Regions from separate parts of the Homo sapiens genome. Here region 1 is linked to region 2. The links are contacts of gene promoters, found by promoter capture Hi-C in human tissues and cell types (Jung and others, 2019). All regions are on one chromosome and are shown on one strand. Each heading gives the region's core, a stretch centred on a gene start or on the middle of the fragment in contact. The rest is flanking DNA. Distances are from core to core; before and after follow the strand shown.

The links. Contacts are between HindIII fragments. The study calls those that stand out against the background at their distance.
Region 1: a contact is called between a fragment that was not itself captured here and the fragment with the promoter of POLD2 in region 2, in 1 of the 25 tissues and cell types used here (H1 embryonic stem cells).

The regions. Positions count from the first base shown.
Region 1 is chr7:44,305,626-44,308,682 of GRCh38, reverse strand. The region is part of intron 1 of CAMK2B (calcium/calmodulin dependent protein kinase II beta); the gene reads left to right. Among named protein-coding and RNA genes, the nearest start is that of CAMK2B, 18 kb to the left of the region's middle. RefSeq lists an enhancer at 2,393-2,442. The HindIII fragment of the contact is 4,208 bases long and covers 1-3,057 here.
Region 2 is chr7:44,121,979-44,124,955 of GRCh38, reverse strand. It overlaps POLD2 (DNA polymerase delta 2, accessory subunit), which reads left to right and starts at 1,408. Exons shown (of 11, transcript NM_006230.4): 1 at 1,408-1,445; 2 at 2,847-2,977. The coding sequence starts at 2,903. RefSeq lists enhancers at 743-802, 322-1,226 and a silencer at 1,013-1,722. The HindIII fragment of the contact is 6,473 bases long and covers 77-2,977 here.

The DNA of each region.
Region 1 (3,057 bases), core at 512-3,011, 180 kb before region 2:
CCCGCACCTCCCTCTCTCTGTAATGTCACTCCTGCCTTCATCTTCCCAAAGTAGACACGTTGGTGGAACCTTGTCCTGCCCTCCGGGTGTCCCTGTGGATCCAGCTCAGAGAGGGCAGCAGTGTGGTTCTGAAGGGGATGACCAAGGAAGTGGGGGGATGCACAGGAGGAGGGCCAGCAGCTCCCAATCAGGGAAGGCAAGCTGTGAGGAGAGGAGGGGGACATGGGATGCGAGCCGGGGGCAGGGGGATGGGGACCCAGGAGCAGGACACCATGCTGGGCGCCACCACACACAGGCATGGGGCAGGCCCTGTCTCTCTTCCCCCAGCCACCTGGGCCTTCCTATCTGGCATCCTGGCTCCACCTACCATGGGCACTTCTTTCATCCCACAGCTCAGCTTGTCCCTGGAATTTCTCAGGTGAGAGTCAGGATGGCAGCTCCGGCAATTAGCCATCTGCACATCTGGATTTTAGGGGCAAAGAGGAGAAGAGACGTGCCTTGTGCTTAAAGTGTTCACATTCCTGTTAGGGAACAGAACAAGAACGTGCCTGCCCCATGCCTCCTGGGCACATCCCGTGTGGGTGAGGCCACAGCAGGCCCTCCCAGCATTTGGGCTACATGAGGTGAATGGGTGGTTTCCCTCATATGGAAAGAGCTCCTATAGGTCAAAAAGGCCTGGAATCCCAGCGCTTTGGGAGGCCCAGGTGGGAGGATCACTTAGGCTAGGAGATCAAGGCTGCAGTGAGCTGCAGTCACACCACTGCACTCCAGCCTGGGTGACAGAATGAGGCCCCCCAGTTAAAAAAAAATGGCCAAAACCCCAGTTGAAGTACGGATGACAGCAGCAACAGCTCACAGAAAAATAAATGAAAGCTTTCAGTGGGTAAAAACAGGAAAACAAATTCAACAAGGGTCAGCTCTCAGCGTTCCCCTCAGAGTTCCCACAGGCTCCTTCCAGGTGGCCCTAGGCTAATGGGCCACCTCCACCAGACTCTGGCTAAGCGCATCTCATGAGGCCAGGACCAAGGCCCTAGGACACAGGCACCGTAGCCTTGTCCCAGGGAGTAGGTTGGCCCCTGATGTGCGTGACAGCCTCTCCATGTGGGCAGGGGAGGAATTCCAAAGATGCAGTGAGCCCTGGCAGACCATTCCCAGTGCCAGGGGCCAGATGGCGCCAATGACACAGGAGGCCCCAGGCTGAGCCTCCTGAAACCCTCCTCTTCACACACCCTCCCCTGCTCACACCCTCCTCCCCCTGATCACACCCTCCTCCTTCTGCTTACCCCCTCTTCTCCCTGCTCACACCCTCCTCCCCCTGCTGACAACTTCCTCCCCCTGCTGACAACTTCCTCCCCCTTCTCACACCCTCCTCCGCCTGCTCACACCCTCTTCCCTCTGCTCACACCCTCCTCCCCTTGCTCACACCCTCTTCCCTCTGCTCACACCCTCCTCCCCTTGCTCATACCCTCCTCCTGTTCACACCCTCCTCTCTCTGCTCACACCCTCCTCCCTCTGCTCACACCCTCCTCCCTCTGCTCACACCCTCCTCCCCCTGCTCACACCCTCCTCCTGCTCACACCCTCCATCCCCTGCTCAGACCCTCCTCCCCCTGCTCAGACCCTCCTCCCCCTGCTCACCGCCTCCTCTCCCTGCTCACACCCTCTTCTTCCTGCTCACACCCTCCTCCTCCTGCTCACACCCTCCTCCCCTTTCTCACATCCTCCTCCCCCTACTCACCCCCTTCTCTTCCTGCTCACACCCTCTTCCCCCTGCTCACACCGTCTTCCTGCTCACACCCTCCTCCTCCTGCTCACACCTTCCTTCCCCTGCTCACACCCTCCTCATTCTACTCACACTCTCCTACCCCTGCCCTTACCCTCCTCCCCTGCCCACACCCTCCTCCCCTGCTCGCATCCTCCTCCCCCTGCCCACACCCTCCTCCTCCTGCCCACACCCTCCTCCTGCTCACTGGTTTCAGCATGGCCAGATTGAGTGACAGTTCTCCAGCAACCCCTGTGCATTATCTGCATAATCCACCACATGCTTCAAGGCTGGGTCCAGGGCTAAGAGACAGGCTGGACCTCTCCACCCTAGAGGCTAGGCCTGACCTGCAGGCCTCCCCTAGTCTGTTGGAAGAGCATGGGCACAGTGGGCTACAGGTGTTCCTGGGTGGTCCTCCCTCCTGTCTTCATCTCTGTATTTATTTTGCTCTTTGCTTAATGCAGACCTCCCCACTGGGGTCATGGCCATTGTTCTGGGGCACAGCTCCTGTGGGGTTGCTAAAGGAAGACATTTGTTGCTGAAGATTTCTGGAGGATATGGTTCACCTGAGAGAACGGAGAAGTGAAAGAGAAAGATGGATGCTGATACAGAATGAGCAGAAGTCCCAGACCCTCCCTGGAAGGGGGAACTTCCCACCGAGGCTGCACAGGACAGGCTGGATTTACGGGGATCCCAGCCCAGCCCACCGTGGCTTTCAGAACCCCCAGTCAGACTGGCTCCCCTGTGAGCCCTCTCCTCAGGAAGAGTGCTCACCCCCTCTCCTCTCTCACTCCCATGGGGAGCATGTAATTTCAGCCCCTAGGTGGTTTCTGGCCTGTCAGGTTCTCCTCCCTCCTGACCCTCAACCCCCCTCCCTCTGGGTATTTGGGGTATGTAGAGGGAGGCCACATCATCCCCCCTTGCAGTCCCCTCTCAAGTGGTGCCTGGTCAATGTTTAACAGAGGGGTGGGGTCCCTGGTGGGTGGTGTTTGCCCATTTCTGTGGTATGAAGATGCCCACCGTGGCCAATGTCAAGCTAACAACATGACATCAGCTGGCTCGCAAGAATCCAGAAAATGTGAAAGTCTGTTCTCTAGCTGGAAGAGCTGTCTCTGACACCCACTGCCTCTGCCTTGGCCCAGCCAGCGTGACCGAGTGATGGAGTGAGCCAAGACGGCACCCAAGGCCTCTCGCCCCTGTCTTGGTCCTGCTGCCAACTCCCGGCCCTGCTTCTTCCCACTCTCAGGGCTCTACTTGGCTCAAGTCCTGTGATTCATTTTCCTCTTGCTCCCACCT
Region 2 (2,977 bases), core at 159-2,658:
GTGTTGGGATACAGGCGTGAACCACTGTGTCTGACCCAAAGGATTATTTGAGGAGCAGATGAATTAATGTGTCATAACCTCAAAGCAGTTGCAAAGGCGTTTAATAATTAAAATATCACATTTTAAATTAAAATATAAGGCTGGGCGTGGTGGCTCATGCCTGTAATCCCAGCACTTTGGGAGGCTGAGGTGGGAGGATCACTTGAGCCCAGGAGTTCCACACTAGCCTGGGCACCATTGGGAGACCCTGTCTCTACACACACACGCACACACACACACACACACACAAACTTAAAGTAGCCAGGCGTGGTGCTGCGCGCCTGTTGTCCCAGCTACTCGGGAGGCTGAGGCGGGAGAATCACTGGAGCCTGGGAGTTCGAGGCTGCAGTGAGCCGAGATCGCACCACTGCACTCCAGCCTGGGCCACAGAGCAAGACGCTGCCTCAAACAAACAAACAAAAACAAAAATTAAAATATTAAGTAATAATTAACGAGTGTTAATATCCACTCGTTGTGGAGACAAGACCTGGACTTAGGAAACAGGCCCAGGGAAGTAGCAGAACAGTAGCGCTAGAGGACGCCTGGGAGAATCAGCGCGCGGCGGGAAGAGCCCGGGAAGCTTAGTGGGGAAGCGTCTCTTGATGGGGTGAGGAATTCTATAAATTAGTGGAGATGGAAAAAAAAAAAAAAAAGTATTCCCAAAGTGGGAGACAGCACTCAGAAAGACGTGGTGGTAAGAACGAGTATGAGTAACGGGGACAACGAGGACACTGGAGATTGGGGAGTGTTGGGCTGGAAGCTGGTGTGCAGCTGTGGGCAAGCTAGGGAGGACCCCGAAACCGCCAATGCGTTTCCCGGACGCAGACGCTGGCAGGACGGGAGGAACCCCGAGACCCCGCGCCATCCCTTCAGGAAGAGTTACTTCTCCCCGGCCAAGTTAGTGGGCCTTGGGCCTTCTTTCTGTTGGGATCCTCCTCGCGTGTCGCCATCGCTACAAGTGGGCAGCTCTGCGGGGAAAGCTGGGACGCTGGGGGCTTCACCAAGGAGGCTGGCGGCCGACCACTGGGAGGTCTGGCGGGGTGACGACCACTGGGAGGTTTGGGCAGGGCCTGACGGGGTGACGCGGTCAGCCCACTGGAGGCCGACACCCCCCGTCAGCCCAACCCCTGCACGCGCGGCCGCCAACCAAAGACCCGCGGCGCCGGCCTGCGAGCCCCCGCCCCGCGTTGCCCAGGAAACCGAGGGTGTGGCTCCGCGTTCTCTGGGCGTCCCAGGGACTGGGCGCACAGTGGTCGGCGGGATGAGGCGCCTGGTGACGGACGGGGCGAGGAGGGCAGCGATTGGTGAGATTAGGCGATGGGCGGGGAAGCCGCGCGGGGATTAGCGAGTTGCGGCGATGGGCGGGGCAGGCGCGCGGGGATTGGCGGGATGCGGCGCGCCGCGCGGTGAGTGGGGTCCAGGGAAACGGGGTCAGCTGGGGGTGGCAGTTCCAGGCCGCGAGGCCGGGCTCCTGGGTCGGTGGGCTGGTGTCTTGGCGGACGTCCCGCAGCTGCCGCGTGGATCCGAGCCGGGGCACCCGCCGTGACTGGGACAGCCCCCAGGGCGCTCTCGGCCCCATCCCGAGTAGCGCGGCCTGGCTGCTGCCGCCATCAAGCACGTTCGAGCCAAAAGCTCCTAACGAGTCACTCGTTAGACACGTGTGCGGAGCCTGTGTCCCAGGCCAGTGCTGTCCCGTGGAGATAGATTGCAAGCCGCTAGGGAATTTTTTAACTTTCTAGTAGGTGTACGAAAAAAGTAAAACGAAACAAATCAATTGGAGTAAATCCATAAATATATTCAAACTATTATTTCAATTGTATGTGAAAAAATTATTGGGATATTCTTTGTACTATTCTTAGAAATCCATTGTGTGTCCAACCCAAACATCACAGTTGGACTCACCACATCTCCTGTACTTCGTAGCCCTAGGTGGCTAGTGGCATAAGACACAAAAATCTCAGCTCTCCTGGAGCTTATGGTCTAGTTGGAGCAGGCAGACAATACATTTAAAATATACAGTTTGTTAGAAGGTAAATGTTGTAAACAACAATAACAGTTGAAGTACTGGGGAGAGTTGCAGTTGTAAATCAGATGGGCAGGGCACAAGGTAACATTTGAGTAAAGATGTAAGAACTTGAAGGAGATGGGCAAGTGAGCTCTATAAGTATACGGGAGAGGGGCAAGCAAGAGTTCAGAGGCCCCTTGCTGTGGGGAGGGATCCAAGGTGGAGGAGTGGGAACCAGGAGGGGAGAGGACCAGTGGAGCAGATCTCATAGGCAGTTGTAAGGACTTGGGGCCTTATTCAATGAAATGAGGACACTTTGGAGAGTTTTGAACAGAGCAGTGACTGATTTATGTTTTGGTTTTGGTTTAGTTCTATTATTATTTAATAATAGGCTTATTATTTCACAGAAGTTTTATTTAATAAGGCAGACCTCTTGTCTGGAAATGAGACAGGTGCCGGAGAGCTGGATGGAGGCAGATCGGGAATTCCATTTGGGGCAAACTGAACTTGATTGAGACCCTGGTAGTTGTCCAGATGGAACAGGACACCTGAGTCTAGGGTTCGGGAAGAACTCCAGATGGGACAAACACTCCTAGCTTTCCTTTTCTCTTTTTGGATGACCGCTACAGGGTGAGACATCGGTATCCAGGCACGATAAATTTCCAAGTGGACACAATGTCTGGTGTCAACTACAGCTGTTCTCCTTCTTTTCCCAGTATCCTTTGGGTGCAGTGAGACACCAGGAGAGCTGCTGCTTTGGGGGATGGACAGGGGCAGCAGGAATGCCTTTGTGTTTTCGCAGTGAACCTCCTTGGCCTGGGCGAAGCTGTGTGGACCAAGCAAGTCAGGAGTGTGGCCATGTTTTCTGAGCAGGCTGCCCAGAGGGCCCACACTCTACTGTCCCCACCATCAGCCAACAATGCCACCTTTGCC